Linked DNA regions of Homo sapiens: regions 2, 3 and 4 are each linked to region 1. Evidence: promoter capture Hi-C in 16 types of primary human blood cells and fetal thymus (Javierre and others, 2016). All regions are on one chromosome and are shown on one strand. The core of a region is centred on a gene start or on the middle of the fragment in contact, and the rest is flanking DNA. Distances in the headings are between cores, read along the strand shown. Region 1 holds the start of ARRDC3 (arrestin domain containing 3). Region 2 holds the start of UTP15 (UTP15 small subunit processome component). Region 3 holds the start of JMY (junction mediating and regulatory protein, p53 cofactor). Region 4 holds the start of MACIR (macrophage immunometabolism regulator).

Region 1 (6,680 bases), core at 1,973-4,472:
AGCGAGCGGCGGCGGCCGCGCCGTGGTAAACAAGTGCCGGGCTGTCAATCAAGAACTAGACCGGAGCAGGAGAGGACCGGCCTAAACCGGCGCGAGCAGATCCCAGCCGGCCTGCCCGCGCGCCGCCGCCGCCGCCGCTGCCGCCCGCGCGCCCCGCTATACATACGGCATACGTCGCGCGGCGCTCGCGCCCGTGCCCGCGCAACCTAGCCTGCTGGCCGGGGGGCGGGGCGAGCGAGCCGCGGCGCTTCCGCTTTACACGCCCCAGCCGGCGACCGGTTCCATCTGGCTCGGGCCACTCTGACACCTTTAGTTTCGGCAAGGGATATTGGGGTGGCGAAGGGGAGGCGGGGGCCCGAAGGCTTCGGAAAACGATGGGGGAGGGGGCAGAGGATACCCGTCGAAGCCCCCCCCTCCCCCAACATTTCGATATTGGAATCACTTTCCTTCTTCCTCGGGCCAGCCTTTGCTCTGTCCCCTCAGGTCAACTCAAGGTAGACAGTGTGGCGACTGGAGAGGTCGGGGAACAAGCTTTGTTTCAGCTAAGGGGAAAACAAGCGTTCACAGGAGTCCCCTGACACCTCCCACTCGGAAGATAGCTAACGGGGGTCCTGCCAACCCTTCCCATCCAACTTCCATCTGAAAAGGATTTTCTGCTAAAGTTGGGTCCATGGCCATCCAGCACCTGTAAGGCCGGCAGGAGCGTCTGCCCTCTACTCAGTTAAAGCCTGAAGTCGTTTCCTTTCGATGGCCCTTAGGAGGCCCAAAAGAGGGGCGACAGAACATGATGTTGACACGGGCTGGGCGCCCCCAGAAGCCCGGGAACAAACGTGAGTACGGGCTGGGTGGGGGTCGCTCTGGAGGAACCTTTACCGGCGCACGCCGGTTTCCTAGCCTCGCCCCAGCCGCGGCGCGAGCTCACTCTCCCCACCCGCCCGCGCCCAATCCAATCAGCGCCTGCCATCGCCTTAGCAACAGGCTAACAAACCTGGCTCCGCCTATCCCGGGCGCCCGGGGCGGGGTCTCAGTTACCAGGCTAGTTTGAGAGCTCCCAGTTTCAAGTCATTGAAACTATTCCAGACTGAGCTCGTCTACGCGTTGCAGGGTTTGGGGGGCATTTTGTTGGGGGTGCAGGGCATTTAGTTTTCTTTACCACGAAATCATGGTGCAACTAATGAAATTATATTTGTCCTCACATCTCGTTGTTCTACTTTTCCCCACTGCAAGTCTTAACCCCTTGAGGAAAAATCTGTTTTCTTTCATCCGTTTCATAAAAGGCTGCAATATTCAGAAAGGTACAAACACAAAGTCATCTATCTGCTTTTCAACAAATACCAAGGCTGTCATTAGGCATTTGCATCTCCTATCAGTGTTAACACTTGGAGAGATTAATTAGTTATTTCAGGATGCAAAGTACCTGTATCTAACTACGAAAATCCTGCTAAAGAACTGAGTTCACCTTAATAGTTTCAAAAATAATGCATTAATACTGTCCCTCAAAGCATCCTTCATTTCTCACTTGCCTTAGTCATCAGCACTTCTCCAGGATGTACGTTTTTAATATAAAAAATAAGGTAAAATATGTCTCTAATTTTTTTTCTGAAAAATCGCCAACATCTGAACTAAATACTGCATTAAAAAGGAGAGGCACAAAAATTACATAACCAGTTTTAACATTATATTCTTCTTGGGCTAGGAATTAAGTCATCGCCACCACCTGACGCGTGTAACCAATCTGCTGAGAGCAGAACAAGCGCCCCTCCTCACCACCCCCCAGAACTGGTCCGAAACAGGATTGAACCGCTTCTAACAAAGGGTGGAAACTTAGAAAAACAAGCCTAGAGTCTCCTATATTTCCACAATGTAACCATTTAAACAATAGATTGGAAATCTCAGGACTCCTTCTCCTTTTGACAACCCTTTATCTCTCTCTTCTAACCAAAAATCAAATCCAGTGTGCCCTATACTTTTCAATTCCATTTGACTGGCATGGGTTTCATTGAATGCACGTTCCAAAGTTAGACATGATGCTCGGAAAAGAAAATTACTGATCCTAAATGGCTTCTAAACCTGACTCGATACCTATCATAATGACAGATAGTCATTCCTTTAAAATAAGGAATGCTGGGTGTAAATTTTTAAAGGAATGGTAAAGAATAGAGAAAAAACACGTGGGGTGTTGATACCATATGTCAAAATAAGCCACAGAAATCTTTTATGAAAGAACAGTCATCAATTATTTAAAGTCTTTTGCATTCCAATATTAAAAATGAAACACACCCATTAAGTCTCTTAAAAATGTTATTACATTTCTTGATCGAAGTTCAGTTTTTACATCTTAGGTTGCAAGTAAAAGGGCAAAAATCTAAGACTGCAGCTTTTACCAATTCATTTGAAAATATATTAGTAAAACGACTGAATTGGATTCAAACAGAATTTATAAGTAAGGTGCAAATGGACTACAAGTGCGTGTGGCACAGACCGAGCCGGGTACAGAGGTAGCTGAATAAGTGTAGTTTGCAGTCACTTTGCAGATGCCTGCATGCATTACGGCTTAACACACGATGAACGTCAAGGAGAATCCAAACCTTCCAACTTTGCTAACCTTTCTCAAACTGCTTAGTTATGCTAGGAGTAGAATCACGTTAATTCAGAAAACTGAAAAGGTACGTTTCCAAAGAAAATGAGTCCAATGACTTATGAATAACAAAAACTTACCTCTTTCGTGCCCAATTAAGATGTCTTTATGGTTGAAATACTCTACTTCTTCAGTGTAATTCTGTGTATAGGCAGTATTGGAGCCGGCGTTTCTAGATTCAGTCCAGCGTACTTTCGCATGTCCTCTTGCATGAATTTTAAGAGATTTTACTCTGATTTCCCCAGTAACTTCTAAATTTACCCTTCCTGAGACGGTATCCCCACTAGAATACACAGGGACATTGCTGTCATTAAGACAGTCAAAGCTTATTGTCAAACTCTTCACCTTTCCCAGCACCATGTTTATAACAAAATCTATAAAAATATAATGTAAGACAAAAAAGTCAAGATCGCATATAAAATGTGATCTTCACTTAACACTGATCGATATTTTTGCCGTGCAAAATGCTTGCAGGCCGGATCAGTGATTCTCTACAAATAGTTCATTGAGATTTCTTAAAAAGTCAGGGCAGCAGAGGCTGCTGCTCCGCGCTCCCGCTCGTCTCAGTGGTCTCCTTACAAAGACGGGCGGCTAAAAGCTGCCAGCTCACTTTAAGAGCAGCTTTGTGAAAAACAACCCCAGTGCGCAGGCGCAGGCCGCGGCTGCTGTCCGCCCTCCCTGCGCGCCCCCTCCCGCGCCGCGCCGCGCCGCGCTCGCTCCCTTGCCCGCTCGCTCCCGGGTACAGTAGGTGTAGAGCTAGGGGAAGGAGATACTGGAGCTGCTGGCCGGCTGAACCTGACTTCTCTTCATTGTGGGCTCCTATTGGTAGGCAGGCTACCGTATACCCTCGACGTGCTATCTGGAGCCCGTTACCGAGCGCACTCTACTAGAAAGATAATGGCAGAGTGGGGTGCGAGGGTACAAGGGCTGGGTGGGGAGTTTGCAAAGCCAAGTTAGGATAAACTGCAGCGACCAGCCCGAAGCGTGCGTTACCGGCACTGCAGCGTTTTACCAACTGCCTGGATGGGAGGAGGAAAAAGTGATGTGTGAAGAGAGATGGGGGAAGGGAGAAACCGGTTGGGCAAGCGGCCGATTGTTGAGCATAATCTAACGAATTTCCAAAGAAAACGTAATAAAACCGGACAAGAAATATTGTTCATAGACAAGAGCATACTTTGCTTGGATTTTTTTTTTTTAAACCAGTACTTTGTAGGCAGGTTGGAAATGAACTCAGTCGAGGTCAAAGGAACCTTAATCCTTTGAAGAGCGAGGTAGAGAAGCAAGTACAATGTAATCAATAGGCTTTGCTGTCTCCTCAACTTCTTTCTCCTACATTGCTTAATTAGCACCGAAAAACAACCAAGTTGTTTCCAGGATGACACGGGTGGGGGCTGGGGGAAGCTTGATCACTTCCTCGAAGGAAGAAAAAGTCCTTTTAAGACACCACCTACGGCTAGATTTGCAGAGTAAGACATGATTACAACTCCTGTGTCCAGAGGAATAAGAATAGAGTTCGGCCTAAAAAAGTACTACCTTATAAAAGGCATATGACATAGTGGTTTAGCTGACATATTGTTTGCAACAGAATCGGAAAATCTTTGTTAGAAATTAGTGAAGCGCATAAAATTGTTTTTAAAAAGCATGATTTGGTATATAAATAGGGATTTAACTGTGTGAAGCTTTAATTTTCGGCCGAGAGCCTTGGACCATTTAACGTAGTAATTCTCATGATACATCTTAAATATAGGTACATTTCTCTTTTTATTGTGAATGTTTGGTAAAAAATAGCAGTGCTTTCGTCACATCACACTGGGATTCAGAGCATAACAGCATAAACTCATCTAGATTACTGGCAATCAACAGAACTGCCTTACAAGAGAAATGTAGAAAGAAAAAATATGAATCTGGTGCTCTCTCTATATATATATGTATGACCAAAAATACCTTGGAAGATTTTTGGCTGTCCGTGTCTAAACGTTTTAGATTCTTTTGCGTAGTGTATATGGATAGGTTGAGCCTATGAGTCACAATAAACTAAACTTATTGGTCTTGCTGTTTTATTTCAAAAGAAACTAAGCTTTTGGGGGTTGGATTTTAGTTGACAAGGCAATATCTTGGACTCAACAGCAATATATAAAGAGTATAAATATGCAAACTAGACAATTAATGAGCAGGCCATTTATTTCAGAGTTTAGATCGCTATGCATAAAATTATAAATTTGCATATTTAAGTGGGAAAAACAGTCTTATCTTTTCCCTACCTCTTGGTTGACACCTGGTGGAAATTCTAGGTAAAGTACCTGGGGCCTTGTACTAGCTTTGATTACAGATACTACTTGTGTTTTTTCTCCACCTAGTGGTAGAAGTGGTGAATTTCCTAGAATGACAGCTTTTCCTCAGCATAAGGTCAATGATATTTAATAAGCATTCGAAAACCACTGAGCAAGGAATGGATTTAAAAGTGTAGTCCATAATGAATACATAAATTCATTGCACATTTGTGTCTACATTTATGTTAAAAATTATTAAGGGTTAGTGAACAGCTGAATTCGGATTTTTTTAGTAAAATTTATTTAATTAGAATATAACTCATTTCAGAAAAAATAAGAATTAGCTATATAAATACACCAGAATTGCATTTAATAAAAAAGAAGTCTAAGAAATTTATTTGTAGTTTGGAAAATTGTTTTAAAATATTAAATGTTTCATTCCTGTCACTGTGTAGTACATTATTCTTTGTGTTTGAAGCTTTCAGGATCTTTTGAATAGTTGTCTTTATTATTTATTTTGCTATTTTTAAAATTTTCTTTTTACTGTGTCTTCTTAAATACTTAGGTAACTGGCAAATTTCCAAGAAATTCTTACCAGCTGCCATTTTCATTATATTTTTATTTTTTGAGATGGAGTCTCACTCTGTTGCCCAGGCTGGAGTGCAGTGGCACAATCTAGGCTCTCTGCGGCCTCTGCCTCCCGGGTTCAGGCGATTCTCCTGCCTTAGCCTCCGGAGCAGCTGGGATTACAGGCACGCACCACCACCTCTGGCTACTTTTTGTATTTTTAGTAGAGACAGGGTTTCACCATGTTGGCCAGGCTGGTCTTGAACTCCTAGCCTCAAGAGATCCACCCGCCTTGGCCTCCCAAAGTGCTGGGACTATAGACATGAGCCGCTTGCGCCTGGTCTCGCTTTATCTTTTCAATTCTTAAAAACAAAAACAAAAACAAAAACGCTTGGACCAAATTTTGAATGTTTTCTCTTGTCGCTTTCATAACTTCCCCCTTTCAGATTTTTTGTCTAAATAGCTACTCCTTAGACAGCTTGAAATGCTGTACTGTAGACATTATCTTGGGCTTCTCAGCTTGCTTCACTGGGCCATTATTGTATTTTGTATTATATTTAAACTATTCGTCTTTACCATCAAGGCTCTTTCCTACTTCTCCCCAGCCTACGTCTCATATGCCATCTCCTCCTACTCATCTGCTAACTCTCTATAATCCTGTCAAGTACATCTTCTGTCCCCTTTGTTAGCTTGTCTCACTGTTGCCAGTATGCAGTTACATGTGCTTTTGGTGCCCAGAATAACATCCCACTACTATGTTATCTCCTTTGCTTTTTTCTAATCCCTCCACTAGATGCAGTTGGCACTACTGAGTAAAATTCCAACTAGACTGAATAACTAGCTTCCCTTCCCCTTTCATTGCTTCTTCAGAGCTTAAGTAGGAATCTCTTTTTATATTAGCTTTTGAGTCAAATGGCTCTTTCACCTTAATATATTAAAGTTTGAACTCAATCTCAAGAACTCTATCAAAGACTGATAAATGATCATTGCTGTCAAGTTGTATGATATTGAGGAGATATGTTAAGATTACTGCCAAGTTTGGAGTTTTTTGCATATTATATCAACATGCTCAATATTTTTATTTTTAAAAAAAAAGGAAGCCATCTCAACTGGAAGTTTTGGTGTTTGGTTGAAAAAAAAAAAAACCTACCAGTAGTCAGAATCTGTTTCATAAAGAAAAATATGAAATCTATGCTTAATCTATT
Region 2 (6,680 bases), core at 2,567-5,066, about 18 Mb before region 1:
TCAATCCCTCTGAGCTTCCGTGTCATTTATAAAATAGGGATATCACCATTAACCTTATAGGGTTCTGGTAAAGACCAAATGAAATACTGTACAGTGATATTCTCACCTCCATCATTAAATTCCAATACATTTTAGTTACTGTTTCTCCCATTTCCTATATCTGAATATCACCAAATGGATAAAAGATCAGGCTAACAATGAAAATAAACTTTAATCTCTTACCTAAGGTTAGTTCTTTAATATGCTATGTTTATATAGGTGGCCCTTAGTTTGAATTTAAGAAATGATAATTCATGTTGTATCCAAGTTTATTGGCATTGTCATCTATAACACCTGTGATTCCTAGACCATGAAAGGCTTTACAAAGCTTTGGTTTTGATGAACTGAAGGTACATTTATGAATTTTTGTTCCGATTAAGCATTAGCAACTTAATGTAGGTTTTCATGAAAAATAAAGTAGGTAGATTATGGATTGGCTTTCCAAGATGTATAGTTGTCTTAGATACATTATCATTTGGGACAGAAAGGAAATTAATAACATCCAGTTAATTTTTTCATGTTAGGGTTAATTGCCTCTTAGGAATTTTGAGAGGGTGCAGGGTGTTTCAAAATTGGAATTGGAATTAAAAGAAAAATGCATTAGGATCGCAGTGGAGCAAGGGTCGCGAAACCATACATTTACAGATAACCACCTTCTACAATTTTAAAAACATTTTCAAAGATTAGTCTTTATAACAATCCTTTGAGTAGGCAGGTCAGGTAATCATATGTCCACCTAGGAGGGGTAAAAAAGGAAGCTCATGAATTATGAGGGCTTACTCAGCTCTTCTGACTCCATCACTCTGACCATTAAAATGAGGCAGCCCTAAACAAAGCCAAAATCTCCACGAGAGAGTTGAATAAATAACACATAGTATAGTAAGGAAAAAAAAAAAAAGCAGGAAGTAAGAAGGTTAATACATTTGGGCAAAAAGAAGGAAACCAGAAAAGAAAATTAGTTCAGTGATTCAAAGGGAGATGGATGTGCAATGCATTAGTCCATGCGTCTTAAAAGGGACTGGACAATGTGAACTGTGTTTCCTGAGGGAAGAACCATCTCCCCCTTTCTCCTATCCAGCGGTTGGCTAAGTGCAACTCCCCTAAGCTCTCTGAGCACCCTGCATGTATCTGTATTTTAGCATTCACCATCCTTTTGACAATTTCCATTTAAATAACAGCTAAATTGAAAACTCCCCTAGGATGGGGACCACTCTTACTAATTTTTGCACACAGAACAGTACTTGGTCCTACCAGGTGCTCCATAAATGTTTTCTGATCTTAACTTTAACAATTTTTTCCATATTCTTTTCTATTTCTAACATTTGCTGATTAGACCTGGCTTTCCACTCCCAACATCGCTACTAACTAGCTGGCCACTCCTGGACAAATAAATAATACAAGTTTTCTGAAATTCATCTATTATAAAAAGGTGTTGAAATAGGCCTTTCTAATATTCTTTCCAGCTCTAAACAGCTTCCATGTTACAAATCAGGGTTTATAGATGGAATTACAGGTCTTCGAGAGGAGAATAGCAAATGTGCTTAGGCGAAGGGGGTGGGTGGAAAATGAACGCTTATCTTGGCACAGCAGTTTAACGAGAGGAGAAGCAAAGTTGATTGGTAGGCCAAAATTTTGAAGAACAGGAGAGGGAGGCGGGGGTGAGGGGAGTGGGGTAACAGGACTTAGAAGAGGTGGTGGTGAGAAAAAGGGGGTAAGGCAATCGATAGCTAGGTTCACCTCGATCTGTCAGAGCCCAGGGATGAAGGGATAGAGAGTCTACGGAGATAAAGTGGGCAGCTATGCTAGTTCCTGTGGATGCTAATAACAGGAGCCCCTCGTTTCTTCCTGATCCTGGAATTATTCTACAAGGAGAGGAAGGTGCTATGAAAATAAATGATGCCTCACAGGCGACAGGTGTCCCAGCGTCCCGAGACAGGAGCCCGCTGTCTCCCGCTGGAGGGGAGACTCTTGCAGGAAAGAAAGTCCGTTCTGTCGCCACCGGCCAGCTGTGCCCGAAAAGTCCCAGGAAGAAACTCTCGCTCATCCGCGGCGAGCGGATCCCGGGCACAGGGGCTGGAGGCCGACCCGGTGAGAGTGCAAGGTCTCGCGACCACCGACGACAGCAGACAGCGAGTCGGGCCTTCCCATCTGAGGCCAGCTTCAGTACAGGCCTCCAAGCCCGGGCTTGTTTTGGCCGCGACGTCACTTCCGATTTCTTCTTTCGCCTTCTGGCTAAAAAACGTTCCGCAGCAATGCAGCTGAAACTTTCGGGTTTTCTTTTTTTTGTCCCTCTCTCCTTTTTTTTAATATTTTTGTTTTTGCCGCCTTTACGCTCCGAGGCCCATCCTGCCGGAGTACTACACAGACAGGGTCATTTCAGTTGACGGTTCTGGGTCACCAGAGCAGAGGAAGCCCCAATTTCGCCCTCCGGTCACACCTCCTACTCCAGATCGCCCCGCCCACCTGACCCGCCTCTGCGCCGCCGGGCTGCGTGAGTCTCATGAGCGTGCTCTGGTACGTCATCTTCGCGCGACGTTCGGTTCGCTGTGTGTGTCGCCGGCTCCTTGAGGGTCCATGTGATTTTTACGCCAGTGCTGCTGAACTGTGCAGGGTAGGGAGCTGGCACAGTCCGATTAATTGTCCTTGGGTCGAGGTGTCTCGTCGGACCCTTTGGGGCTCAGTGGAGGTAGGTGAAGGCGGCTCCCATTGAGGGAAGCCCACACTCACACCCGGCCTTCCTGTGTTAATCTGGCATGCTCTTCTGGGGCTTCCCAGGCTATATAGGAGAGTGGCCAAATTCTTTAACCGGCTCAAGTTCCCCTCAATTAAGCTTCGACCTAGGTTCTTCTCTGCGATTACACCCTTTCCTGTCCACCGTTGTTAGTTCCCGGAGTAATCAGCAACTCTCCAAGGCAATGGACACATTTCCATCTTTGCCTTTGCTTACGAGGCTCCCTCAGGTGAAGTGAACCTAATGGAGTTTTAAAATATTTGGGAGATAAAATCAGCAGATCTTGTTAACTATTTGGATGTTAGGAGTGAGGAAGAAAAGGACACGTCAAGGCTGAGTCTAGGTTAATATCTGGTGCCAGTCACCAGCCAAAATGGAGTATATTGGAGTAAGCAAAGGCACAGACCATGTCTTTATTTCATTCACCATTATAGCCCCAGTGCCTAGAGCAGTGTCCTGCACATTGGTAGGTACTTTAATGAACAGAAGAGTGTTCCCAAAGACCAGTGAAATACAATCATTGGTCATTGTATTTCATTAAAGCACCTTTTAAATATATGTTACACCTATTTATCGTGGTGTTACTAATGTAAAGTTTTCAGGCTTTTTGGAATAGATGATGAGCAGCACCTCTGGAATCATTTACCTGATAACATTGAATCTCTTTTGCAATTGAGTCGTTCTGGAAAAATGTTTTGGCTTGATTGCATGTTATTTAAAAGTTTTATCCTATTCTGCCACTTTAGTGTTGAATTTAATTTCAGGACTGCTTTATTACAGTTTTCTTTCCTACTGTTTAAACCTTTTAAAGTAAATTTAATTTTAAGCTTCTACATTAGAATATTAGCTTTGTGTTTCTTACTTCTTGGCATTTTTAGGCTTTCAGGAAATCAAATCCGTAACTATAATTGTTATAGATTAAATGTCATCTTAAACTTGGTTTCAGGAAACTTGTATTTGCAGTTTCACCTTAATATTTCCTGTTGCCAAAAAATGGACACTCAAAGCCAGCATGATCCTTTTTGGTTTGGCTACTGTAAGGCTGTGCTAGATTTATTCCTAAGTGTTGTAAAATGGTTGGCTAGGTGTGAGAACCTTTGTGTACAGCTGAATAGATGGTGCGATATGATAGCCTTCACTTTAATTATTCCTGCTTCCTATAGATTGCCTTTTCTGGGTTAGAATTAAATGGCTTATTGGTCTCTAATCTATATACTTCCACACAGACTTTTTAAAGAAAGCAGAGTGAAAATCAACTATGTGTACAAGCTTATAATATGTATATAAAATATTTTATTTTTCAGAATTAAGGCAGAGTCACTGTAATTATTTCTAATACCAATTCCAAAATAGTGACTCTTGGACAATAGTGCAATTATATGGAATTATGGCTGGTTATAAGCCTGTAGCTATTCAGACATATCCTATACTTGGTGAAAAAATCACCCAAGATACACTGTACTGGAACAACTATAAGGTGAGTGTGGGACGTAATGAGGGAGAAGGGATTTGTGTTTATGCCAATTTCTCTAGCATATGTTATACTCTGGATGCTCTAACAGAGAATTATTAACTGAAAACCATCTATCAGCAGCTTATAGTTTGGGCAGATAATTTGATATCTATTTTTTCTTGGAATTTTATGTAAAAGTCCATACTGCTTAATCAGATTAACCATACAAATGCCTAGCACAGAACAGATGATCAATCAATGCCAAATGAATTAAATTTTAAAATTTGAATCTCATATGTGTAAAGATGTTTATTGAAGTATTGCTTGTAATAGTAGAAATCTTGAAAAACCCATGTCTATTAGTAGTGGACTGGTATAGTAAATTACAGTGTGCCCTTATAATGGATGGTAAGTCTATTGCTCCTATGAAAGCTAATATGTGTTACTAAGTGAAAAGAAGCAAGATGTGGAACAGCCTACATGGTATGATTATCTTTTTGTTATTTTAAAAGTACAAGTACGTGGTTATTGTATGCTGGTGTAGACATGATAACTTTTTTTTTCTGGTAGAAATCACAGTAAACTCAATAGCTGAAGAGACAGAGTGGGGTGTGGCTTTCTAACCATATGTTTATTTCAGTGGCAACAAGAATAGTCTGGGTGATGAGATATGTACCTTTTTTGCTTTCTTTGTAATTTTATGTTAAATACAACTTAAGAAATGTTACTAAGAACAAAGAGAAACGGTCTGTAAGAAATTATGTAATGCATAAATAGGTCTTACCAGTGGTAACTCTGTTAACACACTATTATTTTTTATTAAGACCCCTGTTCAGATTAAGGAATTTGGTGCAGTTTCAAAAGTAGACTTTTCTCCTCAGCCTCCATATAATTATGCTGTCACAGCTTCCTCAAGAGTAAGTATAATATTAAATTTCTTTATTTTTCTTTTGTATAGTTTACTACTGATCTTGAGCCATCTGGTGAAATACTGTTTTTCATCTTGTAGATTCACATTTATGGCCGATACTCCCAAGAACCTATAAAAACCTTTTCTCGATTTAAAGACACAGCATACTGTGCTACTTTTCGACAAGATGGTAGATTGCTTGTGGCTGGCAGTGAAGATGGTGGAGTTCAACTTTTTGATATAAGTGGGAGGGCTCCCCTCAGGCAGTTTGAAGGCCATACAAAGTAAGAGACAGTTGGTTTCTGTGTGTTCTGGTTTTATTTTGTTGTAAGCTCTTTTTTTCTCTGGACTTTGGTTAAAAAGATAGAGATCAGTTTTATGGAGATTATTTGCCTATAGGTACTATATTTCCTGATTGTTCTAAGAGTGCTTAACTTGGGTTCCGTGGTCCAGTTTCATGGGGCTTATGAATTCCCTAGAATTGTATGTGATATTTTAGGAAATACACGTTTATCTAGGGAGCTACTCTGTAGCTTTTGGTTAACTTTAGTGGGGTCTGTGGCCCAGCTGAGATTATGAATTACTGACCTGAAGACAACCTTACAGCTGGTAATGACAGCTCTATAGGCCTGTACTGTCTTAGAGGCTCTTATGTTGAAGTCAAGTAGGAAGGTGGATTTTCTTCTTGAATTTATAGTGTTTTGCCCCTTAATAAATTAAGTGGCCATCACAATTTTATATTATAACTTTGTTTTCAGGATTGCCAATGTCCGTGCTGAAATTTGTTAAAATTTAACAGAAATTTATGTAACATGATTCTATTTAGTGGTAAATCTCTTTAGAGTTTTTTAAAGAACTTTTTGAAATTTTAAAAATTAAAGTGCCTTTGCTTCCATATTCAGCAGCTAAGTGGAATTGTTTATATACTAGAAAATATAATTTTAAGGCTATCCTTTAATTTTTTTTAACTTTACAATATAGGAGTATTTACACTTCTTAATTGGTTTGGGGGCAAACACTTGTAAGTTTTCTCTTTCTTTCATGATTTCCCCCTATGAAGACTCCCTGAAACTCAGCTGCTTTTTTTTTAATCTGAGAAAAAGGAGCATTTTATGTTAGAAGGTATCAGAAAAATAATTTTCTTGCTTTTTAATATACTGACCTTCAATCTTTCAGAGCAGTTCATACAGTAGATTTTACAGCTGACAAATATCACGTGGTCTCTGGGGCTGATGATTATACAGTTAAATTATGGGATATTCCAAACTCCAAAGAAATTTTGACATTTAAAGAACACTCTGATTATGTGAGGTGTGGATGTGCTAGCAAACTTAATCCGGATCTCTTTATAACAGGTTGGTGAACTCTATTCCCTCCTGAAGCAAATAATCTCACGGGGATGTACTTTAATGTTGCTATGGGACTCTTTTGGGATGGAGGGGTTTAAATTTTTTTTATAAAGGAATATGTTTCTGATTAATTCTTCAGTTTTTAAATTAATTTTTATGTATGTATGTTTGCATTTATTTTCAGACAGGGTCTCACTC
Region 3 (6,680 bases), core at 2,790-5,289, about 12 Mb before region 1:
TTTTTTTTTTTTTTTTTGAGACAGAGTTTCGCTCTTGCTGCCCAGGCTGGAGTGCAATGGTGTGATCTTGGCTCACTGCAACCTCCTCCTCCTGGGTTCAAGTGATTCTCCTGCCTCAGCCTCTCAAGTAGCTGGGATTACAGGCATGCGCCACCACGCCTGGCTAATTTTGTATTTTTAGTAGAGATGGGTTTTCTCCATGTTGGTCAGGCTAGTCTTGAACTCCTGACCTCAGGTGATCCACTCGCCTTGGCCTCCCAAAGTGCTGGGATTAGAGGTATGAGCCACCGTGCCTGGCCATGAGGAACTTCTTTAAGGGAAATTTTTGCCTCAGAACTCCCTGTTGGATTAGCCTGCCTGATTCTGCCTCTGCCCCTTCCCCTTCTCTTCCACAGGGGTCGCCTCCATACTTTTTTTTTTTTCGTTTTGAGACAGAGTCTCACTCTGATGCCTAGGCTGGCGTGCAGTGACATGATCTCGACTCACTGCAACCTCCACCTTTCGGGTTCAAGCGATTCTCGTGCCTCAGCCTCCCAAGTAGCAGGGACTACAGGCTTGTGCCACCACGCCCGGCTAATTTTTATATTTTTAGTAGAGACGGGGTTTCACCATATTGGCCAGGCTGGTCTCATACTCCTGACCTCAAGTGACCGCCCACCTTAGCCTCCCAAAGTGCTGGGATTGCAGGCATGAGCCACCGCACCCGGCACCCCATAAATTTTTTGCGTTCCTACTTCTCAGTGTCTGCTTCCGGGAGAATCTAACTGAGACACCAGTGGATTTGCAAATGGACCCCGGAACTGAAGTTGCTCCCTGCTCCCAACCCTGGGATGTGTAACCTAACTAATCTGAACTGCTGTTTTCTCCTATATAAATTAAAGATGCTTATTCCTTTCATACCTACATTTCATGGTTATTATGAGGTGAGAAAATGCTATATAATTTGAAAATCACTATGTAAACTATTATAGTTTTTATGAAAAGTTCTAAAGAGTTAAAGCATTTCCTGAATTACCTAAAGATGCACAATAGTTCTAAAAACTTCAAACAGATAATAGTTTTAAGCCCTTTGAAGGCTGGTATGGTGTATGTGGGGTTTTTCTGTAGCTTTGCTTATTCCCAGGGAGTAACTTATACACTGAGAGATCTTGCTTGGCAATCAGATACAGACCTAAACAAAGAATTGTAGAGTACTATAGTAACCTATCATGGGAATTTTGGTTTGTTTCTCTTCATTTCTAGGATAACAGTTACTAACATAGCACGAACAAGAAACACTGAAACATCTCATTTGACAAAACACAGTGGCCAGTGTATTGAGAGGAAATACTTAACACCTGTGTAACTGTGAACCAATTTTGTGTATCACTATTCTGATAAGATAAAATTTTCTATCCATGAATAAATATAATTTCATGTTATTTTACTCTTAACACCACTTGACGAAATATTATAATTTTAATATACGTGCACATAAAATATTTCTTATAACATTCTTTATTTCCATTTATTTATTTATTTTTGAGACGAAGTCTTGCTCTGTTGCCCAGGCTGGAGTGAAGTGGCGCAATCTCGGTTCACTGCCACTTCTGCCTCCCAGGTTCAAGTGATTCTCCTGCCTCAGCCTCCCGATTACAGCCTGGGATTACAGGTGCCCACCACCACGCTTGGCTAATTTTTGTATTTTTAGCAGAGATGGGGTTTCACCATGTTGGCCAGGCTGGTCTCGAATTGCTGACCTTTAGTGATTCACCCACCTCGGCCTCCCAAAGTGCTGGGATTACAGACATGAGCCACCACACCTGGTCTATTTATTTATTTTGAGACAGAGTCCCACTCTGTTGCCCAGGCTGGACTGCAGTGGTGCGATCATGGCTCACTGCAGCCTTGACCTCCTGAGCTCAAGCAGTTCTCCCACCTCAGCCTCCCAAGTAGCTGGGACCACAGGTGCATACCACCATGGCCAGCTATTTATTTTATTTTATTTTTTATTTTTATTTTTTTGAGACGGAGTTTTGCTCATTGCCCAGGCTGGAGTGCAATCGAGCAATCTCTGCTCACCGCAACCTCCGCCTCCCGGGTTCAAGAGATTCTCCTGCCTCAGTCTCCCAAGTAGCTGGGATTACAGGCATGTACCACCACACCTGGTGAATTTTGTATTGTTAGTAGAGATGGGGTTTCTCCATGTTGGTCAGGCTGGTCTCGAACTCCCGACCTCAGGTGATTCACCCGCCTCAGCCTCCCAAAGTGCTGGGATTACAGGCTGGAGCCACCGCGCCCGGTCTATTTTATTTTTTTGTAGAGGCAGGGTCTCCCCATGTTGCCCAGGCTGCTCTTAAACTCTTGGGCTCAAGCAATTCTTCCAAAGCATTTGGATTACAGGCATGAGTCACTGTGTCCAGCCATCCAGCCAAAATATTATTATTTTTTATTTTTTTCAGACGGAGTTTCGCTCTTGTTGCCCAGGCACTGGAGTGCAATGGCACGATCTCAGCTCACTGCAACCTCTGCCTCCCGGGTTCAAACGATTCTCCTGCCTCAGCCTCCCGAGTAGCTGGGATTACAGGCACCTGCCACAACGCCCAGCTAATTTTTGGATTTTTGGTAGAGACGGGGTTTCACCATGTTAGCCAGGCTAGTCTCGAACTTCTGACTTTGCGATCTGCCCACCTTAGCCTCCCAAAGTGCTGGGATTACAGGCGTGAGCCACCGCACCCGGACTATTTTTTTAAATAATAATTTTTTTCTTTTTCTTGTCCTCTACTCTGAAGAGAACTTGTAAACAAATTCTTTTAATACTCATTCTCTGTATTCACAATTATACATAATGGGATCATGTCAGTAATGCTTTATCAGAAAAACTAGCTTTTTGCAGTTGCTTTTTAGCAAAAAAGAAGAGAAAGTTTTCTACAATGTGCTATTGTTTGCTTAGCTGGTAATTCAAACCTTTTTTCTTTTTTCTTTTTTGAGGTGGAGTCTCTGTCCCCCAGGCTGGAGTGCGGTGGCATGATCTCAGATCACTGCAACCTTCGCCTCCCGGGTTCAAGCAATTCTCCTGCCTCAGCCTCCCAAGTAGCTGGGATTACAGGCACGTGCCACCACACCCGACTAATTTTGTATTTTTTATAGAGACGGGGTTTCACCATGTTGTCCAGGCTGGTCTTGAACTCCTGACCTCAAGTGATCTGCCCACCTCAGCCTCCCAAAGTGCTGGGATTACAGGCGTCAGCCACCATGCCCAGCCCCGTAATTCAGATTTGAAATGGGTTTTCTCTCTTTTTTGCCTTTCAGAACGTGTCTCTGACTTGCATTTGAGATTTGACACAAACTCAGTTACAAACTTTGAAAATTTGTGGTTTCAAATAATGAACTGTACAAAATGTTAAAAACCAGCTGGGCTCAGTGGCTCACGACTGTAATCCCAGCACTTTGAGAGGCCAAGGCGGTCGGATCACCTGAGGCCAGAAGTTCGAGACCAGCTTGGCCAACATGAAGAAACCCCGTCTCTAATAAAAATACAAAAATTAGTCGGGCTTGGTGGTGTGTGCCTGTAATCCCAGCTACTTGGGAGGCTGAGGCAGGAGAATCGCTTGAACCCGGGAGGCAGAGGCTGCAGTAAGCTGACATCGTGCCACTGTGCTCCAGCCTGGGCCACAGAGTGAGACTCTGTCTCAAAAAAAAAATTTTTTTTGGCTGTTTATTCAAATATCAGGACAATACTGAACCAAGTGTTGAAGCTTAGAGTTTAAGATGGACAATACTGAACTAAGTTTGAAGCTTAGCTAGTTCAGTACTGTTCTGTCATCTGAATAAACAGCTGTTTTTACTGAACCTAACAATACAAGGCTAATCCAAACGGTTTTGTATATACTTTAGAAATGTGAATAAATGTAAAAGAACTAATTTCCATTGTGCTTTACTATGGTGCACAACATCTGTGACTTGAATACTAATCGGAAAAAGAATGCCAATAATTATTATAAAGTCTACTAATTTTAAGAATGTGTTTCATCATAGTTTAGTAAGAATAGCAGAGATTGATATGACTGTTTTTGTATATGCATTCTGGGAACTCCCATAATTGAATACAACTTCAAAAGGGCTAAAGCCCAGTGACCTCAAAACGAGGTTCACAGAACAGTACATAATGATGAAACCTGAAGCAATAAAACACCAATGAACTGAAATGTAAACATTCATGCTGTTAGGACATGGCATTTTCATTTTTCATTTTGTTTTGGACTGTTACTGGGCTTTCCTCAGACACCTTCCTTTCATATATTAAACTCTGTCTTTCCAGAAAAGCTTCTGGAATTGTTTTTGTTTTTTGTTTTGGTCTCAAGGGCATTAGGGGAGAACCTAACAGGCTGGGGGCGAGCCCCACATAGTTCAGCACACCGTTCCCCGCGGCAACACGCTACTTCTGAACGCAGGAGCGACTCTCCGTCCGGGCTCCCTCCAGGAGAATGGAGGCAAATGTACATTCGAGGGTCTCAATACCTGGAATTCGAAACGTCTCAGTTCCTCCGCCTTAGTTCCTCTTTTCCCGGGTTCGGAGGCCACCTGTGCAGCAGGGCACACCTGCCACTCTCATCGCCCTCGGAGCCGGCAACCAGCCGACAGCCGGCTCCAGCCCCGGGGAACTGGAGGCTGCGCGGAAGGAAGGAGAGTCGGGAGCGCGGCCGCTCGCGGGCTGGCTCAGGGGACGCCGAGAGGAGGCGCCGGCGCGCGCGGGCGGGGTGCGCGCGCCGCCGCCGCCGCGTCACCAGCGTGCGGCACGTGCCCATGTTTACGTCCCTCGTGGAGCCGCCGACGTCAGCAGTCGAATGGCAACATTGTGGCGATGCTGAGGCGCAGAGTTTAGGAGACGGGTTCATCAGTCAGGCCGGCTCCGGGCTTTCTGCAGCAGCACCAGGGGCGGGGGCGGGGATCTTGACCTGGGCGAGCGACCGGGACGCATACAGCGCCGGCCTGACCCCGCGGGACCCGCGCCTCACCACCGGAGCGCCGCAGACGCAGCTCCACGGCCTCGCGCGGGGGGCGGCGGGCGGCCGCGAGGCGCTGCGGCAGCGCGGAGCTTGTAAACAGATCCGGCCGCAGGTGACCATGTGAACTACCTGCTCCCGGGACGCTTATTGTCCTTCTCTCGATCCGCGCCACAAAGGAGCTCGGCGGTCGGGGCGCGGAGGGACAGGCGAACGAGCCGGGAGAGCCGGCCGGCGCACTAAGATGGCTGAAGGCGCCCGGCGAGGGTGAGCGGGGGGCGCGGCGCAGCCAGCGGGGAGTCCTCGGGCGGGCCGGGCCGGCGGCCCTTCCCCGCGGCGAGAAGCCGGAGCCACCATGTCGTTCGCGCTGGAGGAGACGCTCGAGTCGGACTGGGTGGCTGTGCGGCCCCATGTGTTCGACGAGCGCGAGAAACACAAATTCGTCTTTATTGTGGCCTGGAACGAGATTGAGGGCAAGTTTGCCATAACCTGCCACAACCGGACGGCCCAGAGGCAGAGGAGCGGCTCCCGGGAGCAAGCGGGGGCGCGAGGGGGCGCCGAGGCCGGCGGAGCTGCGTCCGACGGGAGCCGCGGGCCCGGCAGCCCGGCGGGCAGGGGTCGGCCCGAGGCCACTGCCTCTGCAACTCTGGTTAGGAGCCCCGGGCCCCGGCGGAGCTCGGCCTGGGCGGAGGGCGGCTCTCCTCGGAGCACTCGCAGCCTTCTGGGGGACCCGCGGCTGCGGAGTCCTGGCAGCAAAGGGGCGGAGAGTCGTCTTAGGAGCCCAGTGCGGGCCAAACCCATCCCGGGTCAGAAAACATCTGAAGCCGACGATGCGGCGGGGGCAGCCGCTGCAGCAGCCCGGCCGGCGCCCAGAGAGGCCCAGGTGTCCTCTGTACGGATAGTGAGCGCCTCTGGGACGGTCTCCGAGGAGATAGAGGTGCTGGAAATGGTGAAGGAGGACGAGGCACCTCTGGCGCTCTCGGACGCGGAGCAGCCGCCGCCCGCCACCGAGCTGGAGTCTCCGGCCGAAGAGTGCAGCTGGGCCGGACTGTTTTCTTTCCAGGACCTGCGCGCCGTGCACCAGCAGCTGTGCTCGGTGAACTCGCAGTTGGAGCCGTGCCTGCCGGTGTTCCCCGAGGAACCTTCGGGCATGTGGACTGTGCTGTTTGGGGGCGCCCCCGAGATGACCGAGCAGGAAATCGACACTCTGTGTTACCAGCTCCAGGTCTACCTGGGCCACGGCCTGGACACCTGCGGCTGGAAGATCCTCTCCCAGGTGCTCTTCACCGAGACCGATGATCCCGAGGAGTATTACGAAAGCCTCAGCGAGCTGCGGCAGAAGGGCTACGAAGAAGTGCTTCAGCGGGCCAGGAAGCGCATCCAGGAGGTGAGTGAGTGAGCTCCTAGTCTGGGCTCTACTGGTCGCTTTTGGTTTACTGGCCAAACCAAAGGCTGGAGCCTCGGTGTCGGGTGTGCGCAGTAGGACGGTTGTTTTTCTGGACAAGCGGAAACCAAGAGGGGTTCCTGATCTACCTTGCCCTTCATCCCTCTCGGTGGCTGCTTAATTGACTCTCTGAAGGACCTTCGTCTTTATTTCCTCCCCCATTTATCAAAAGTAGTAAGTGCGCTCTGTGTACTACTCAGTACTGGTAATGCGCAATTAAAGCCACTAAGAAAAGTGTTCTGTAAGCATGG
Region 4 (6,680 bases), core at 1,472-3,971, about 12 Mb after region 1:
ATAAGATTTCAGACAGGAAGAAATGAAATTAAGTCTCTTAATATAAAATATACAATGTTTTGGAGGTGGTTTTATGAGAATGATCATCAGGACAATACACTATTGTGTCAAACAGATTATAATCGGAAATAATTCTCGGTGTATTCTCCTAATGTACTGATGCAAAAAAAGTTTCTTCATTTATTTATTCATATTATGTTGTGCTAGCTTCTATATTTTTGAAATTACATGCAAATCTATGTCGGGAAAAAAAGTAACTGATGTTTTGTAAAATTGTTTAGGGAACATTCCTTAAAACTTATTCTTCCCTCTACCTTCCTTTACTTATTTTAGGGCACATAAGCAGTAGCATAAAATGGCTTATAGCTGAGCGGCCTCCGGGAGTGGTTCTGTTGGACTAGAGGTGTTTATATATTTTTTGCCTTTATATTATCAGGAACATATGTAGATTCTGGAACAAGTGTGAATCAAGACTCGTTTAAACTTATATTAATCTACTCCAGATTTATGTCTTTTATGTTAAGATAAAGCATTTTGTCTTTTAAAAAATAAAACTCTCTTGATTGGACACTGGTACCGAAATTTATAACACTTATAAACAATTTTGGGGTTCACCGACTGCGTACACATTCAGCCTTAGCCACTCAGTAGGCATATGACCTAAACTTTCTGCATTTTTAAAATGTGGATCATAATTGGTTACTTCCTCACAGAATGGTTATTGAGAGATGTAAATTTGGATATGCATGCCAGTAAATATTCTTATTGCTGAGCTTAACCAGTTCGGCAGAAATGTACATGAATTGAGAGAAGCAAATCTTCATCAAAGAAAATAATTTATTACAATAATAGACAAGATCAACATTTGTGCAAATTAAAAAATAGTTAATCCAATCAGAATCTGAATTTGAACTCCCCCCCCCGCCCCACCCCGCCACCTTCACTGGGTATTACGAGTTTTCGTAGACTGATCCTATAATTTTTAATTTCATGGCCTTCTAGTTTTCTGTACTTTTGCTTAGTGCTGAGCCCTTTAAGCAGAGACTCACAAGTGACAAATATCAGCACACCACTTAACTGAGGAAGCCGGAGTGTTCCCAGGTCCGCAAGTTGGAGCTCTTTAGTTGGAGTGCTGGGTTTAGACTAGAGAGCGGGTGTTGCGACTCCTCCTCCCCACCACCAGTCAACAACCCCGCCCACCCCCGCCAACTTCTTCTGGCCTCTTAGCGCCTTTCTGCAGCCAGCCGGCCCGCCCTTCCTCCGGGTGTCTGAGAGCTGGGCGCAGGAGGCGGGCTCAGCGCTGACGGGCTGCGCCTCTGCAGCCAGAGGGAGGAGGCGGGAAGGCGGGCGGAGGAGGAGGCGGAGGAGGAGGCGGAGGAGGGGGCGGGGACTAAGCAGGGCGGTAGCTGGCGCCGAGCGCGGTGGGAGAGGAGAGGGTACCCGGCTGGCTCGGCTGGCGGCCTCTGCCTGGATCTCGGCGCCGCAGTCCTGCGCCTCTCCCGCCCCTGTCTCCCGCTCCGCAGCCCCGGGCACGGCGGAGGCAGCGGAGCCCTGGGCCATCGGTAGGTTGCACGGGGACGACGGCTCCGTCTGTAACCTTTTGTGCTGCAGAAAAGGTGGTGGTTATGGGGGGCTTGGGGGAGTGGGTTTGCCCCAGGCTCCGATCCCCAGTGCCAGCCCTAATCGCGGCGCCGCCCCTTCCTCTCCGCCTCGTGTCTGGGCCGGGCGCACGATGCCCGCGGTGCTGGGGAAACCCGGCCGGACCAGCTTCTGCGATGGGCGGCGGGGCGGCCCCAGCGTCCCTTGGCCTTGGTGGACCGGTTCCCAGGCACCCGAAGGGGACTGGGGTCTGGTAAACTGGGTGGGGCCCGCGCGGGGTGCGGGGAGCTTGCGGTTCCCTGGCACAGGGGTGGGGCCGCAGACGCCGTGAGTGTGCAGCGCGTGTGAGTGTGCGGGGGCGTGCGCCCCCGTGTGCGCGCGTCGTGCGCTCGCTGGGGAGGTGCGGGGACTCGGCGACCCGGAGCGCCTCTCCCGCGGTGCCGCGGTGCGGAAGTCGGGGCGCGTTGGCGCGCACGCTCGCTCGCTCCCTCCCTTGGCCGCTGTTCCCGCACCGCGGGGCAGCGGGCCTGGAGGCCCCTTTGAGAAGTAGCTTTCCCCGGCCGGCGGCACCTTTGGCTGCGTGCCCGGCCGCGCTCAGGGTGCGACTGCCCGGGTCAGATAGCACCTCAGGGCGAGCCCCGGCGGTCTGATCTCGCCGACCCTCCTCGTCCTGGTTGCAACCCGCGTGCGAGGCCGCCCGCGCCCTCCGAGTGTCTGCCGGTGCAGTGGGGGTGGACTGGCCGGCTGTGGCCGTGTGTGCGCGTGTGGATTGGGGCCCGGTCCGAGCCAGAAGCTTAAGCGGCAGATGTCGGGCATTGCCACCCTCGCCCCACCTGTCGCGGGTGGACTTTGGGGCAGGTGGGAAGCGGAGGAGAGGGGTTTCGAGGCGGGTGGCAGTCAGACCTCCAGCAACGCGGCCCCATTGTGAAGCTGCCAAACTCTCTCTAGTGGTGGAATCTGCAGGTCTCCGCCAGAAAGGAGATGGGAACGCGAAGGGAATGATGGCCCCGTCCTTTTCCCCTTGCTAGTGTTCCACACGCTTAGGGACTCCCTGCCTCTCCTTCCACCTCAGTTTTCAACCCAGTGGGTTACTGATTTGGGTGGAACCAAGATTTCCGTGTGTGTGTGTGTGTGTGTGTGTGTTTGTGTGTGTGTGGTGCACAGGTAAAGCTGGAGCTGGGAACTTTTTATTTGAGCAGGAAGAATGGAGGCATTTTACAGTGTGCTTGCCGCTCCTAGCTGAAAGAACAATTCTTGCATATTTCTGATGTTACTAGACTCATTTTCCTTTTTTTTTTTTTTCCGAAGAGCCAACCTACAATTTAGGGTTGTTAGTTGTTTTATTTTCTCAAATCCTGTAATGCTGGATTGACACTATAGAGGTAGAAATGACCCTTTTGCAAAGTTTATTTTCCCAGTCATTTCAAAATATAGTATTGGTTATTACGGCAGAAGCTTTTGGCCGCGATTTATGATTACACTATTAAGTTTAATGAATGTGTCACAGAATCCTCAGTGTTTTAATTATGTAACTGTGAATGCATTATAAACTGAAAAGTAAAATGAACAGGATGGAATATAAGAGTTAATGAATACAGAGACCTGTTAATTTGATAATAATTGATGTATAGAATATGCTTTTGCTAACAGTTTATTTAATTGCAAATGAAAGTGTTAGTAATTATTTCAGTGTATAAGATATATTTATTGATATTATATAACAGTCAATGAATTTGCTTATTTTCTTTGTATATTTCTGTGTATTTTAGAGAGCTATTATAAAATTAACTCAAAAGTACTTAATATGGTTAGAGTAATAAAGCTTTATGTACAGGGTTTAAAATTTCTTTGCTGATTTGTAGCTGGGGGTGAGGTGGGGGATCAGCTCCTTTCCTCCAGAGAGAACTTTGATTTTGTCACCAGCCTATCAAAATGAGTACCTGGTTTTAAGCCTTCCCAAAGATTAGCCAATTCCACAGTGTACACCTGTTCCATTTTGATGATACTTCCTAAGAGACAAATTTCTTGTAAAGGCTGCATGTTGACCTTTAGTTCCACTTACTGTCGGTCATATTTGCAGTGAAACTGAGTATTTTTCTAAAAGTAGAAGGATGACACCACGTGATAAGAAGATATTAGTAACCTAGGTTTAATTTTTACTAGCAGAAATGGAAAGATAATGAGTGCTGCACTTTAAGGGGGTGGATTGCTATTAAAAGAACTGATACTAGAAAGAGAAACACATTTTTGTCTTACTGAACGAATTATGGGTTATCTTACAAAGTTGGCAAGGTTAATGGTTTGTTTGTAAGGTCAAGGATGGTTTCAGAAAAGTCACACCCTAGTTAACTCTTCTTAAAGAGTATTGATGACTTACTTTTTGCAAGTTGCAAATGGTAAAGTAAGAATATTTGAAAGAAGCCTCTAAGATGAGCATCTAGGTGCAGCTAAACATTTTGTTTTCATTGTTGTGTTGTACTTTGACAGTTAAGCCATTTTATTTCTGCTTAGTGTTCAGTTAGTATTCCTCCAGAGATGTTTTGGTTCATCTTTTACTTGTTTTTAGTGGTCTTTGAGATTAGTGGTTACAAAATATTTTCACTATTTTGAAAGAATTTTTAAAAATTGATGTTTTTTTTCCAAGTGCTTTTCCATTAGTGGTCTCTTCTTAAATAGCCACTCTGAAAATACTACCTGTTTTTCTTTTTCTTTCTTTCTTTCTTTCTTTCTTTCTTTCTTTCTTTCTTTCTTTCTTTCTTTCTTTCTTTCTTCCTTTCTTTCTTTCTTTCTTTCTTTTCTTTCTTGAAAATGTTTTGGTGGGCTTCAGGTTAGGGCCATGAAAAAAATGAAAATAAATGTTTTGATAGCTAGAATTAGAACTCACAGCTTCTACTGTACCAATTTCTCTGCCTAAAATTTGTCCTTTCATAATATAAACTTTAATGATGAATGTGATTTTTATTTACCAATATTTGAAAGGGCTATGTGCTGGTCCTCATATTTATAGTCTTATGATTTGTGATCAATGTTGTTAAATTTTTTCTTACTGCTGTTTTGTTAGTGATCTGTGCTGAAGCTTGAGATTCACGACTTTTTTGTGTGTTTACGAATTTTGTATGGACATAAACATTTCCAAATGGAGCTTTGTATATTTTTGGGAAAGGCACTCCCTTTTTTGGGTTCCTAGTGCCATTCAGGTTTACTGTTATTAGAAGGATTTATTTCCATGTCTGCCCTCCCCTCTGACCCAGTCTCAGGCCATCTCTTTATATGTGCACCAGTGCCTGCATAGTGTGGGGATATATAATAAGACTTAAGAAACATTGTTGAATGACTGAATAAGTGAATATCTAAGTGGGTACACCCGAAGAAAGAACTCAGACCTGTATGGGAATTCACCGTTCAAGCAGAAGGGTGTTTCCCTTTTTAAAAAAGTCATTGCCTTTCCATGTTGCTTTTGAGTAGGATAACAAATGAAACAGCCAAACTGAGACACTTTTGAGAGTTAAAGGGGGTTGCTTTCAATAATTATGCCAGGGTATTGACTATGAATTGAGATATATAGTCACTCTTCTTTTGAAAGGCATTCTTATTTACCTGTGATAATAACTATCACCTGAGAAATTCGATACATTTGGTAGTTAATGTTTGCAAACTTTTCTATTTGTAGAAGCTCCACTTGCAGTGAAATGTTGGGTGTCTTTTGCTTAGTCACCCATGACTTTCTTATCCAGAAGTCTGTGGGCAGCTCTTGGCCACTGCTTGGTTTTTTCCTATTTTTATTGCTTATGGGATAATGTCCCACTGCATTCTGTTTCAGCTTCTTATAACTGGAAGCATTTATTATATCTTGTAGCCTTTGCTCTATTTACTTCAGTCTTTGTTTTTATGCAGCATTTAGTCTATCTTCTAAGAATTTCACATGGATTCCTTTTCCTCTTGCTGACTGTTTTGGAGAGGAAATCTGTTGATATCTTTCCAAGCCTTCAGTGTTTAGAACATTGGCCAAAATCAGTTGCAAGCGTTAGAGAATTATAGATTTTTAAAGTATTCTAAAAATGTGTGTTATTTGAAAGGTACATGTTTTGGGAATTTTTATATTACAATCTTTTAATTGTTATAAGTGGGAGATGGGGGTAGAACCCTTACTGTAATTTTGTAGTAGATTTCTTTATGGGTTATGTCTTAAAGAAAACGTATAATCTTATACTAGTTAGTTTCTGGTCTTGTTCTTTTTATTTATTTTTCCCTCTTTTTCACCATATACCTCCTCCTCCTCCTCCTCCTCCTCCTGCTCTTCCTCCTCCTCCTCCTGCTCTTCCTCCTCCTCCCACAAAGCAGGAAGCAGAGTCAAAATTAGAAAAAGTGAGAATGTAATGGAGCTTCTGCACCTTGGTTTTCTTGTGTTGCTCCCTTGGACATTGTGTTTATATTCTATTTTTGGCTTGGCACTGGCATAATAGGAATAATCAGTTACTACTCTTTGTTTACTATGAAATTACCGATCATTTCCTAGATTTACACATCAGCTCCAGTGCAAGAGTTGGGTAATGTCTTCAAGGCTCCTCTGCTTTCAAATCCAGACTAAAGTTTTAGTTGATTTCTTTCTTTTGATGTTGAAAAAGAAACTCTTTGAAAGTGTAAATATTTTTCTAATGCATTTAAAAGCTTAAAAAGAAGAATATGTCACCAAATACATGAGGCAAATTATATGAAAGTTTGAATGAGATTTAAGACTGTCAAAACTATTCTTTAGGATTAAGACATTCAGATATTTCTAATGTTCCTCCTGCTTGTTTTAAATTGACATTTATAAAAGTATAAATGAAATCTATCCCACTTTGTGATAGATGTAGTCTTGAGAAATAAAGCGGAAATATATAACTGTATTTGATATCCAACCATATAACCAGACGGTATTGGTTGATACCTTTTTTTCTGTCGCATAATTTATGATTTTAGAAAATAGAAGCTCATAGGAGAAAGAGTCCATGATTCAGAAGGATTTTGTATAAGACTTTCCACGATGTGCCACCAAATCTTAATATTTTTCAAGTTGGAAATAACCATGCAGCTAAGTA

The links. The method cuts DNA at HindIII sites, captures the fragments that hold promoters and counts their contacts. A CHiCAGO score of 5 or more calls a contact.
Region 2: a fragment that was not itself captured here is called in contact with the fragment with the promoter of ARRDC3 in region 1 in 1 of 17 cell types (total CD4 T cells); the score reaches 6.3 in total CD4 T cells.
Region 3: a contact is called between a fragment that was not itself captured here and the fragment with the promoter of ARRDC3 in region 1, in 2 of 17 cell types (naive B cells and non-activated CD4 T cells). The highest score is 8.8, in naive B cells.
Region 4: a contact is called between a fragment that was not itself captured here and the fragment with the promoter of ARRDC3 in region 1, in 1 of 17 cell types (fetal thymus). The highest score is 6.4, in fetal thymus.

What each region holds. Positions count from the first base shown.
Region 1 is chr5:91,380,095-91,386,774 of GRCh38, forward strand. ARRDC3 (arrestin domain containing 3) reads right to left here and starts at 3,223. Exons shown (of 8, transcript NM_020801.4): 1 at 2,719-3,223. The coding sequence starts at 2,998. It overlaps ARRDC3-AS1 (ARRDC3 antisense RNA 1), which reads left to right and starts at 253. Exons shown (of 3, transcript NR_027435.1): 1 at 253-830. RefSeq lists silencers at 115-294, 915-984, 3,130-3,439 and enhancers at 3,293-3,810, 3,690-3,989. The HindIII fragment of the contact is 1,076 bases long and covers 2,962-4,037 here.
Region 2 is chr5:73,563,188-73,569,867 of GRCh38, forward strand. UTP15 (UTP15 small subunit processome component) reads left to right here and starts at 2,556. Exons shown (of 13, transcript NM_032175.4): 1 at 2,556-2,725; 2 at 4,075-4,247; 3 at 5,048-5,140; 4 at 5,233-5,417; 5 at 6,310-6,488. The coding sequence starts at 4,158. ANKRA2 (ankyrin repeat family A member 2) reads right to left here and starts at 2,452. Exons shown (of 9, transcript NM_023039.5): 1 at 1,945-2,452. RefSeq lists enhancers at 1,712-2,266, 1,846-1,895, 1,916-2,125, 2,136-2,695, 2,267-2,821. The HindIII fragment of the contact is 442 bases long and covers 3,596-4,037 here.
Region 3 is chr5:79,231,311-79,237,990 of GRCh38, forward strand. It overlaps JMY (junction mediating and regulatory protein, p53 cofactor), which reads left to right and starts at 4,821. Exons shown (of 11, transcript NM_152405.5): 1 at 4,821-6,372. The coding sequence starts at 5,341. LOC124901011 (a long non-coding RNA gene) reads right to left here and starts at 4,713. Exons shown (of 2, transcript XR_007058836.1): 1 at 4,501-4,713. RefSeq lists silencers at 4,723-4,772, 4,813-4,862, 4,893-5,332, 5,503-5,772, 6,056-6,350 and enhancers at 5,275-5,911, 5,963-6,382. The HindIII fragment of the contact is 528 bases long and covers 3,776-4,303 here.
Region 4 is chr5:103,257,335-103,264,014 of GRCh38, forward strand. MACIR (macrophage immunometabolism regulator) reads left to right here and starts at 1,429. Exons shown (of 3, transcript NM_033211.4): 1 at 1,429-1,562. RefSeq lists silencers at 1,090-1,599, 1,810-2,189. The HindIII fragment of the contact is 662 bases long and covers 2,391-3,052 here.